2 separate regions of the Homo sapiens genome follow, and region 1 is linked to region 2. Evidence: promoter capture Hi-C in 16 types of primary human blood cells and fetal thymus (Javierre and others, 2016). All regions are on one chromosome and are shown on one strand. Each heading gives the region's core, a stretch centred on a gene start or on the middle of the fragment in contact. The rest is flanking DNA. Distances are from core to core; before and after follow the strand shown. Region 1 holds the start of FHIT (fragile histidine triad diadenosine triphosphatase). Region 2 holds the start of CCDC66 (coiled-coil domain containing 66).

Evidence for each region. The method cuts DNA at HindIII sites, captures the fragments that hold promoters and counts their contacts. A CHiCAGO score of 5 or more calls a contact.
Region 1: the fragment with the promoter of FHIT here is called in contact with the fragment with the promoter of CCDC66 in region 2 in 1 of 17 cell types (total B cells); the score reaches 6.3 in total B cells.

The regions. Positions count from the first base shown.
Region 1 is chr3:61,249,867-61,255,868 of GRCh38, forward strand. FHIT (fragile histidine triad diadenosine triphosphatase) reads right to left here and starts at 1,586. Exons shown (of 10, transcript NM_002012.4): 1 at 1,435-1,586. LOC124909387 (a long non-coding RNA gene) reads left to right here and starts at 1,726. Exons shown (of 2, transcript XR_007095939.1): 1 at 1,726-1,761. RefSeq lists enhancers at 175-454, 735-864, 1,005-1,134, 1,265-1,324, 1,389-1,683. The HindIII fragment of the contact is 4,935 bases long and covers 1-2,905 here.
Region 2 is chr3:56,554,080-56,560,233 of GRCh38, forward strand. It overlaps CCDC66 (coiled-coil domain containing 66), which reads left to right and starts at 3,096. Exons shown (of 18, transcript NM_001141947.3): 1 at 3,096-3,174; 2 at 4,767-4,831; 3 at 5,490-5,515. The coding sequence starts at 3,164. RefSeq lists enhancers at 2,539-3,211, 3,212-3,883, 3,352-3,511. The HindIII fragment of the contact is 1,896 bases long and covers 2,882-4,777 here.

The DNA of each region.
Region 1 (6,002 bases), core at 336-2,835, 4.7 Mb after region 2:
ATACTTGGAACACCGTATACAACAATCCCATATCTAACACTTAGAACAGCATATGCAATCAATAACAACACACACACACACACACACACACACACACACACACACACACACACACACACACACAAACCCTAGACTTCTTTCTTTACTAAATATTTCTAGTCCAGGTTGCAGCAGGTGGACACAGGCCGGCAGCCATGAACGCAGGTCCACATGGGAGTTGTAGTTCCGAGTCAAGCGGCTGCTCTACAGAACGGCTAGAAGCGAGACTTCGTCTCCCAGGAGACATCTCGCCGTGCAAAATGGCACGCCACGAGGTGGAGTACCTGCCCGACGAGAAACAAGAGGCGGGACTGCAACTCCCAGAAGCCTCCGCGGCCAAGGCCTCAGGCCGCAGGCTGAAGCCAAGGAGGGAGAGTTCAGGTAGATCCGGCTTAACATCAGGTGCGAGTAGGGACCACCCTTGGTAGTCTGGGCCCGGCCCAGGTCAGAACCTTACTAAAACAACCACTGTGAGTATTTTCTATTGGTCCCAGCACATTTCTGAGAGACCAGAATAATAATAGCAGTAAATCTGCAAGTGGTAAACTTTCACAAGCATAACCTCAATTTAGATTTCGGCTTCAGGCAACATCCTTTGGCCACTTGACCTGGGAGCATTGAGCTCCTTGTTTCCCAGATAAGCGCTGTGAGTGGCTGTTCCAAGGTAACACAGCGAGGGCAGAATGTGAGCCTACAGAGAAATCTGCAGATGCATCTCAAGTTCCACTAACCTGCCTCCTTACCCCCCACCACCACCAACTTGGATATACCTTTAAAATTCCCCCCTTTGACGCTAAAAATAAAAACAACAACCATAAAATAAGTGTAAGAAAGTCCGACCAAGTACCGATGAGTTCTCCCACAACAATAAATTCGATGCCTCTTTGCCTGTTTTTGAAGTAGTAATGTAAAATTATCTCCCAAAATGCTGCCTTCTCTATACTCCGGTTTGCTCCTGTCCTGGGCACGTGTTCAGCAACCCCTTAGGGGAATCCAGAGCTGCGTGTTTAACACAGACCTGTTGGGACGGATTTTCGCTACTTGTCTATGAAACTGACGAACCATCCCAAAACGGCGGGTGCCGACTACACCCCCAGAGCCAAGAGCTGTGGCGTCCCCGGACCCGCTGGCGTGGCCCCGTGCCTCAGTTTCCCCAATGTATAAACACGGTGGAGGAGGAACGGGTTAGGGCTAGGGTCGGTGCTTGGGAATTGGGGGGCCCGAGTCCCCACCCTGAGACCCTCGTGGGGCGGAAGAGTACTCGGGACAGAAGCCCACCGCCCCGTGAGCGGCGCCGGCCCCACTGGGCTCCGGGGTGATGACCTGACGCGCGTGGAAACCCAGACCCGCGCCCCAGAAACAGTATTCCACTTGGGCTTGCCTCCCCGCCCCTACCTTCCAGGATGTTGACAGCTGGGAATGAAAGGCAGAGGGAGGGAGCGCGGGGCCGGAGCGCCGCCTGGGAGTGTGCCCACTGGGTGGCCGCCTGAGGGACCCGGGAACAGAGGGCAAAAAGTCCTGTGACCGGACAGAGCAGAGCGGGGACTGCAATTCCCAGAAGACCCCACGGTAGGGGCGGGACCCAAGATGGCCGCTTGTCTGGGGACAGGAGCGGAGGCCAATACGCGCAGAGCATGCGCCTACGCCGGGCCAATTGAAAGCCATAGTGACAGTAACCCTGATTCAGGGGCGGGAAACACTGACCACAGAAGACAAGTTGAGGTGAGAATCCCCTTACAAGGGGGTTTGGGGCATAAATCGCACAATCTTTGGCTTTTTCTAACTAGAAAAAGAAACATGATTCTTTTCACGTGTAACGAAAGGCTGTACCGCACTTTTGCTTTTTTCTTTCCTCCCAAAACGCGTTTAACTATCCCTTCACGACTTCCCACTGGCTGGATTTCTTTTCGTTTCATTTCCCCACTCTGGATCTTTCTGGATTCCTTAAGCCTTCTTTTCTTTATGTGTCTCTCAGAAACACAGACTTGCAGTCCCTGGCTTGATCCATCAAATAATGTGGTCATTTACGACTACGCTCAGCCCTCCCTGGCATCCTAACAAAATTGCACCACATGCGCCCCTTCTCTTTTCCTTTCTGTCTTTTCTGTGCTGTTTTTCTCCTTAGCATTTGTCGTTACGAAGCATTGTATAAAATTTACGTATTTATCTTTTTTACCATCTTACTTTCTCACTAGAATGCAAGATCCCTGCAGATGTGGATTTTTGTTTTGGTCACTGTAGTCTTTCTAGCACCTAGAAAAGTGCCCAGCACATAGTAAATACACCGTATTTTCAATAATTGAACGAAATCTAGAGTGACCTTTCTCCCCTAGTCTCCCTTTCTCTGGTGCAGATCAACCCGTTTCTGACCACCATGGTTCCTTGTGCTTGTTCCCCTGTTTAATCCAAAATCATTATTGATGTATTCTGTGCCAAATGCCATGTGGGTGCTGGAGAAATCATTGATTCAGACCCAATTCCTAACCTCAAAATGCTCTGTCTAGTGACGTATGAAAAGTAAAATTAATTTTACAATAAATGCAATTACAAATTGCAGAACACCTACGTAATTTTCACAAGGTCATGCAGCTCCTAAGCAAGGACTAGATTCCTGGCTGCAGACTCTTGCCATTACATCGGGAAAAACAAAGAGCAGTTTTCTCTCAGACAAACACTAAGATAGGTCCCCATTTTCCTTAGCACCATTTCCTTTCTCTGTCTCTCACTTTTTTATTTGGCCTGATTCATTACATGCAGGCAATTACATCAAGTCTTAGATCTCTCATTATTTCTAATATTTGAATCCCATGGAGAGTAGCAAGGTGTCCTACAAAGTGTCCTGGTGTGAAAATCTGATGTCCTTGGAAGCTTGACTCTCAGAGAATGTCACATTGGATTATAGTTCATCACACAGACACCATGGCCACATAAAATATTATCAAATTGTGAATAACAAAGTGAAATTGAAAAAAAAAATATAGTTAAAACAGCAGGAATGTGAGCAATATATGTACAGACTGATTTTGTGCATAGAGATTAAAACACCTGTTCAGGCTTCCTAGCCTAATCTTCTGTCAATTTGGGGTCATTTCCTGTAATACAATTCTTTGTTGCTTTTATGAGCACAGACTTAGCTCAGCAGTCCCAGCTATTCTCAAGCTGATCGACATGAGAGATTTCAACACATGTGTCAGCAGCCAGACTAAACGTGGAAGAAAATCAGAAGCATTTGAAACTGTAAAGCTCAATAACTTTCCTCCTCCTGAGAAAGCATCAGCCTATAATCATTACATCTTCTACTTAGCAGTCAAAAGGCAAATGTCATGAACATACTCAGGGTCTAAACAGTGGTGTCTAATGATTATTGCACTGTTGTCAGATAGCCTAATATGAGCACATAGGTATTACTTCAGCTGTGGATAATGCTGACTGCTGGGCTCAAGGTCACCCACGACCTTGAGCAACAGATACATTCACAAAGAGCATGAAGACATAGAACTTGCATTGGATTCAGGACCTTCAAGTGCCAAGACAATCAGTGGGAGGTTACTGTCTGATCTGCAACTTGACTGAATTAATAACCACCTTAGTATGGGTTCTCCCAGAAGCAGATCTGGAGACAGGTATTCAAGAGCAAGTATTTTATTTAGGAGGTTATCGCAGGAAACACCAGTAAGAGACTAAGAAAGTGAAATAGGGAAGAGAAGACCAAAAAGATGCCTTATCTAGCACATTACCGCTAGAGGCACCCAGAACTTAATCCTCCTAGAAATCTCTGGGAAACAATATGGAACATGTACCTTAGACTGAGTGATTCCACCAAGAGGACAAGATAACTGGGTTGTTTAAACACCAACTACCGTCAGTCAATGATTGGGGGCAGCTTTCAGGGATTATTAAGACCCTGGCTTGTCTGCAATGCTCCAAGAGTAGACAGAGTTGCCTCAGTGGCCACAGAAAGCCAGAGATAGAAGAATTAAGAGTCACATTGGTATACGCTGAAATAGTAAGGGAATATAGCATACTGGCGGGGCACCAATAATATCTGCTACAGGTGGCTTTGGTTTACCACAAGCTCATGTCACTGAAACTAACAGAATAAGAATAAGTCAGAAACTAAGTAGATAAATACAAAAAGCCCAAGCAGCCTACCACCTTCTATCACTCATCAACAATTAAGATAGATTGTACTTTCTAAATCCTCACTAAGACATACAAACCAAACAATAGCAGAAGCCTCATTTACACTGGGGAATAGGAACTCTTTGGGCATTTAAGGAGGGTGCTTTGGGAGCTTTGGGGCATGGTAGTGCAAGGAGAAAGAAGATTAAGAAAAGGGGAAAAGGACATTTAAAGAAACGTGTTAAAAACATTGTGTTTTTCATTTTATGGTCTTGAAACATGAGTAAAGGGTGTGGATATTTTAAGAAGGTAGCATCAAGATCTGGGTGACTTTTAGACCCAGAAGACAATTTTGTGAAAGACTTCTGTGGATTGTGCCATTATAGTACTTCTTCATAGCAAATATCTTTACTTGAAATTATACCCACATTTATTTGTCCTTTTGTTTATCATCTGTCTCCTTCAAACAAAAGGTAAACTCCATGAAGGTAAGAACTTTGTTTTCAGGCCAGGCACGGTGGCTCATGCCTGTAATCCCAGCACTTTGGGAGGCCGAGGTGGGCAGATCACGAGGTCAGGAGTTTGAAACCAGCCTGGCCAACATGGTGAAAACCCATCTCTACCAAAAATACAAAAATTAGCCAGGCATGGTGGCTCACACCTGTAGTCCCAGCTACTTGGGAGGCTGAGGCAAGGAATCACTTGAGCCTGGGAGGCAGAGGCTGCAGTGAGCCAAGATTGTGCCACTGCACTCCAGCCCAAGTGACAGAGCGAGACTCCATCTCAAAAAAAAAAAAAAAACAAACTTTATTTTTGTGTTATTCATTAGTCAGCACTCAATAAATATGTGGTTAACAAATGACTATATTATGGCTACAAAAAGTAAACAGGGTAAGTACTAGAAGAGCCTGACATTTGTACCATTTGTATCATTCAACTAAATCATAAAGGTAAGAGGCACTGGTAACTACACCATAACCCCCCATTATCACGAAGCTTGGGGCCATCCTTGTGTGTAGAAAAACTGGAGGTCACATAATGTTCTCTGGCTTTAGTCAAACACTTCCAACAGCATCCTCTTCAAGCACACATGGCCTACAAGGAAATCTTTACCATGGAAACAGAATTTCAAAACTAAAAAGTCCGTAGAGGTCAAAGAGTTCAACCCTCTGCATAATTCATCTTAGCCATATGTTACAGGTCATAATTCAGACCTTCAGACAAGAATCTTTATTTATTTGTAATTTATTACAAATTTATTTGAAAAAATAATATCTAATACAAAAATATTATATTAGAAAAAAGGAGAAACAATGCATTATTTTTGTAATACAAAGTATAGAAAGTTTGGGAAACTCAGTCGTACCCAAATGCTCTAGTCTGCTTCACACATTTCTTAACCTGTGATCATTAAGCTTTTTGGCTACCATTGGAGAATTCTGGTTGCCAGTAAGAGCCATCTTATGATGTGCTGAAAATTTTCTAAATTTTTCACCTATGTTTTTTTTTTCTGTCATCTTATTTCTCCCTTTGTTGTTCTGTGTTAAATGTATTCCTTGGGTAGATTTGTTCATCAGATATTTAGAGATCTGTCTATTCCCTATAGCTTGTGAACATATGCATGCTGTCTGCTTTTAACTGTGCCTCATAAATAATCACACTTAATCCTTCTTAGTGCCATCTTTTGCAATCATCTTCCAGTTACCTAGAACATAAGGTGCATAAAACTAAGCTCAGTGTCCAAGCTGTGATCTCAGTAGGGTGGCTCAGAATTAAGCGATGATTTTTCATCACTCTCTTTCAAGAAATTATGGCTCTAAACTTATTGCCCTGGTTTCACT
Region 2 (6,154 bases), core at 1,846-4,345:
CACTAATACTACACTGTTTTAATTACTGTAGCTTTATAGTAAGTCTTGATGTCGGGTAGTGTCAGTCTTCTGACTTTGTTCATCTTCAATATTGTTTTCGCTGTTCTGGGTCTTTTGTCTCTCCATATAAACTTTAGATTCGGTTTGTTGATATCCACAAAATAACTTGCTGGGATTTTGATTGGCATAGTGTTGAATCTATAGATCAAGTTGGGAAGAACTGACACCTTGACAATATTGAGTCTTCCAATCTATAAACACAGAATATCTCTCCATTTATTTAGTTCTTTGATTTCTTTCATCAGAGTTTTGTAATTTTCCTCATATAGATTTTATACATATATTGTTAGATCTATACCTAAGCATTTGATTTGATGGGATGCTAATGTGAATAGTATTGTTTGTTTGTTTGTTTGTTTTTGTGACGGAGTCTCTCTCTGTTGCCCAGGCTGGAGTGCAGTGGTGCGATCTCGGCTCACTGCAAGCTCCACCTCCTGGGTTCAGGCCATTCTCCCGCCTCAGCCTCCTGAGTAGCTGGGACTACAGGCGTCTGCAACCACACGCAGCTAATTTTTTGTATTTTTAGTAGAGACGGGGTTTCACCGTGTTAGCCAGGACAGTCTCGATCTCCTGACCTCGTGATCCGCCCGCCTCAGCCTCCCAAAGTGCTGGGATTATAGGCGTGAGCCACCGCGCCTGGGCAGTATCGTGTTTTTATTTTCAGCTTCTATTTGTTCATTGCTGACATACAGGAAAGCAATTGGCTTTTGTGTATTAACCTTGCATTCTGCAATGCCACTATACTCACTTATTAATTCCAGGAGGATTTTTTGTGGCTTCTTTCAGATTTTCTACATAGACAATCATGTCATCTGCAAACAAAGTTTTCTTTCTTTCTTCCCAGTCTGTATACTTATTTCTTTTTCTTGTCTTAGCTAGGACTAAGGCTAAGTCTTAGGATTAGCTCAGACTTCCAGTGTGATGTTGAAAAGCAGTGATAAGAAGAGACATTCTTGCCTTGCTCTTGTTCCCAATCTCAGTGGAAAAGTTGCACTTTTTCACTGTTAAGTGTGATATTGGGCTCTACAGGATTTTTTTAAAAAATAGAGATAGAGTCTCACCATGTTGCCCAGGCTGGTCTCGAACTCCTACACTCAAGCAATCCTCCTGCCTTGGCCTTCCAAAGTGCTGCAATTACAGGCATAAGCCACCACACCCGGTCTCTAGGAGATTTTTTGTAGATATTGCTTATCAAGTTAAGGACGTTCTCCTATATTGAGAGATTTTAAGAAGCAGAGTGAATTAAGCAGATTCACATTTTAGAAATCATTCTGGCTACAGGCTCACGCCTATAATCCCAGCACTTTGGGAGTCTGAGGTGGGAGGACTACTTGAGGCCAGGAGTTTGAGACCAGCCTGGGCAACGTAAACAGACTCTGTCTCTACAAAAATTTTTTTAAAAATTAACCAGGCGTAGTGGTGCATGCCTGTAGCCCTAGCTACTTGGGAGGCTGAGACAGGAGGATCATTTAAGACCAGGAGTTCGAGGTTACAGTGTTATGTTCGTACCAATGTAGGCGGCCTGGGTGACAGAGCAAAACCCTGTCTCTAAAAAAAAAAAAAAAAGAAAGAAAAGAAAAAGAAAAAGCAAGTGTTGGGGTGAAGAAATTAGAACCTCATATACATTGCTGGCAGAAATGTAAGATGCTGCAACTGTTATGAAAACAGTTTGGCAGTTTCTCGAAAAGTTAACCATAGAATTACCATGTGACCCAGTAATTCCACTCTTAGGTGTATACCAAGAAAATTGAAAATAGGGATTCAAACAGATACTTGTACATCAGTGTTCACTACAGCATTATTCACAATAACTAAAAGATGGAAACAACCCAAATGTCTATTAATGGATGAATGAGTAAACGAATTGTGGTATATATATACATAGAATGGAATACTATTCAATCATAAACAGATATGAAGCTCTGATACATCCTACAACATGGATGCACCTTGAATACATTATGTTACTTGAGAGAAGACACAAAAGGACAAATATTGTATGATTCCACTTTTATGACATGAAGTATCTATAATAGGCAAATTCCTAGAGACAGAAATAAGATTAGAGGTTTCTTAGGATTGAGGGGAGAGGAAAATGGGAAGTTGTTGCTTAATGGGTACAGAATTTTTATTTGGGGGTACTAAAAAGCTTTTGGAAAAATATACTGGCGTATTCCACAACATTGTATCATGGAATTGTCACTTGAAAATGGCTAAAAATAGCAAATTTTAACACACATATTACAACAATAAAAAATAAAAAAGTAAAGGTTTGTCAGGCATTTAATAATTAATACCTTTCATTGTTTTTGTCTGGAAAGAGTGTGTGCAAAGATACTTAACAACCAAATGTAATGTGTGATCCTTGATCGGCTCTTGCATTTTTTTTTTTTTTTTTTGAGACGGAGTCTCACTCTGTCGCCCAAGCTGCTGGAATGCAGTGGCGCGATTGGCTCTTGCTTTCTAAATAAAATGCCTATAAGATATTCTTAGGACAAGTGGGGGAAATTAAATCGGGAAGAGAATTATTATGAAATTAATGATCTTAGGTATAATAATTGTACTGCGGTTATGTAGCAGAACATCTATTCTTAGGAGATACATGCTGCAATGTTAAAGGGTTAAGTGTTACAATGTCTGCAATGTTAAAGGGTTAAGTGTTACAATGTCTGTAACTTACTTGCAAATGGTGACCCCAAAAAGGTGTGTGTGTGTGTGTGTGTGTGTGTGTGTGTGTGTGTGTGTGTGTGTGTGTGTGTGTGTGTCTGTGTACGCGCTTTGGAAGGCTACAATTGCGAGAAGCGCAGGTCTCCGCCACCGAAGCTTTAGACTCATAAGCCGGGTCAGGCCAAATTCCGCTGTGCGTAGGGGAACAAACGGCACAAACGGGGCACAAAAGGGGAACAAACGGCATACGCAACCGTCCCCGCGGGAGCCCCGGCCCAGCTCAGCGCACCCGCCAGCATGCCCCACCCTGATTGGTCCACTTGCTCAGCTCGCCGGCACCCCTATATCCAATTGGCGTAGCGCTTGCTGAGCGGCGGCGGCAACCGACGTACACAAGGGGCTTGAGCGTTCTGTGGAGAGAGTGCGAGGTCAGGCCATGAACTTGGGGTAAGCAGGGGTAAGCTGGGGTAAGCTGGGGTAAGCAAGGTGGTCGTCAGCGGAGAGGGAGGCATGTGTGTCTGGGTTGTCCCTTGGAGTCTTTACTGGAGAACGTTCCCAACCTGCGCCGCCGAGAGGGGCAGAGCCCAGTTCTCGGGTAGAAGATCGAGGCAGATGGGTCGGCCCTTAGCGACTCCACAGACCTTACGTTTTCACTTAATGACTAGCATTAAAACTGCCAGTGATCCCCTTTCGGTCCCTTATTTACCTCAGGATGAGGAGGGAAGAGAGGTGAGGAGGAAAGGAGAGAAATGACGAGACAGTTAGAGGAAGCGTGGCGGCTCCTGGGGAGGACTCCTGGCCCATGCCCCGGGTTCTTCGCCACCTTGTTTTTGGAGTCTTGCAGAATGTTGAAACGCCCAAATTCGTTTTAGGCCCACGAGGCGGGGAACCAGGCTTCTCAAGAAATCGATGTAGTACCAGTGCCTAACACCTAGTAGGCGCTCCTTAAGTAGGGGTGAATAAATAAAAAGGGCTGGTGCATGGTCTTCATCACTCGCAAGTTTGATATTTTGAGAAGATGAGAAGCCACCAAACTCAGACCTAACTACACATCGTTCAGCAAATGTTATTATGTTTTAGAATCTGGGGATATGGAAATAAATAAGATAGTGTGTCCCTTAAGGAGATTACAGTGCAGTGCGTCATTGAAGGTACTTTACCATTGAAGCTCTTTTCTTTCTTGGTGACGTTTCACCAACATAAACACGAACTGTTCATAACCCTACAATAAGGAAAGCCGTAAAACCTATTCTTTCCAGTGTTTTACCTTTAATAGTTAAGGTGAGGTAATTTGATTTCCCCTACCTGAGCAACACCGCAAATTTCGCATTCCTAATCAGACCTTTCCCAGCCTCTCTCTCCCTTGACTGGCTTGCTGGATTTAATTTTCTCTCTCTGAATTATGGACTGTATGTATGGGCTGCCATTTTTGTTCTCAGTGGAGTTTTAGGACCTTAACAGACGTTCAAGTTTTGTTGGCAGTGGCTACTGTTACTTTATGCCTTTGCTTCTGATATGCACGTATAAAGCACCATACTAAATATCACTATGTATTATTTGAAATATTGAAAGTGGTACTCTTTGCTCAAGCAGTTACTAACCTTGATGGCATTGTTAGTAGTCATATCGATGCTCCAGCACTCCATAGAATGTTTTAGTCATGAGTTCATTATGAAACTAATGAATGGCGGTTAAATATATCTTGTTCCTTTAACTTATGTGAGGAGTTTTGGTAACAGCATTATTAAAAAATGGTGGTATGATAACTTAATTTATAGTTTACCAATAACAAAATGAGATTTCAGGTTAATGATAACAATGCTTGTAGTATTGAAGAGTTTCAAGAATTTTCCCCCTGTAGTTGTGGGTTTTATCTTGGATTGCAAACGTTTTTAATTAAAACACTGGTTCGATGTGTACAAGATTCCTGCATAAATTCAAAATAATGGATTTATTGTCAGGTTCAAATGAACATTTCTGGTTATTTAAAATGTTGCGGTTTGTTAAAAATGAGAGACAACTTTCTTTTTTTATTACAGAGATGGTTTAAAGCTTGAAACTGAATTACTGGATGGAAAAACCAAGCTAATATTGTCTCCATATGGTATGTTGTGTTACAGAAATCTGAAATGTTAACTTTTAAATTCATACATAAAATTTATATTAGTTCAACAGACTTTTTGCTTGTAATAGAGTGATATTTAAATGATATTTTAGAAAAAGCTGTTTCCTCAAACTTCTGCAGATTTCCTTCTAGCCAAATAAAATCAGATTACAACACTGCTTACTACTGTCAGTATTCAGACTCATAACATTTAATGTTCCAGTATATTGCGTGTTCATTATATCCATATAGCAAATATCCTCATTGCCTGATGAATAATACAAGTAAAATTTATGTAATTATGTTCTTTGCATGTAAAGAATGTATCATTTGAGAAAAGTTTATAGTAAGACCACCGTAAAATGCTAAAGTCACTTTTAGTATTCGTTTTTAAACTCAGTGTACTTTGGTACCTTCTCCTTCGCATTTTTTTTTCTGTTTATAGTTTTACCTTGGAAAGATAAAAAACAAAAATAAAATAGAAGTAAATCCTTGAACTGGATTAGAAAAAAATACTCAGTCAAGATCTAAAGTTTATGCTTTCGAGGATAATGTTGCTAGCTTAAAATCTTATAACAATATTAATTACAGTTTTCTTGCATTACCACCTTAGTATGCTTTTGGTGGATAGTTTAGTAATTTCTTTTTTCTTTTGTAGAACATAAATCAAAAATTTCTGTGAAGGTAAGCCGTATAACTTTGACCTGACCTGTTTTCAAATGTAAAATGCAGTTTTATTTATAGTGGTTAGAAAATAATTCCTGGGAAATGTCAAGTGTTCTAAGGGGTTTGGAATTATAGTGAGGAGTTATTATTTTCTTGCTTTCAGATTGGTCCTTTCACAGAAATTGAATCATTTTAGGTTTAGCCCAATAGAACCTCTTTCTCTAGATAAGTGCTATTCAGTAAAGCATCTGTGTTAATGGAAGTGTTCATTAATAAAATCAGTATTATTGAATATGGAAGCCACTAGTCATGTATAGTTATTGAACCCTTAAAATGTAACTAGTATGACTGAGCAACTGAATTTCTAATTTCCTTTAATTTTTAATGGAATTTAATGGATAATGGATTGTACTGGACAATGCACTCCAGAGATCTTTAAAAATAGATATTCAGACTTTAAACAGAAATGTTTTTTCTTTTCATACTCAAATTCCATTTGCCCACACCAAAGGGGAAATTTAATTCACAAATTGTAGCATGCATTTAGCATTTTCCTTTAAAAGGTTGCACTTGAGCTTAAGGGTAATTTTCCTTTTAAATTATTTTCCCTTATCAGAAATCTATTGTGCTTTTTTCTACAAAATACATTATCACTTT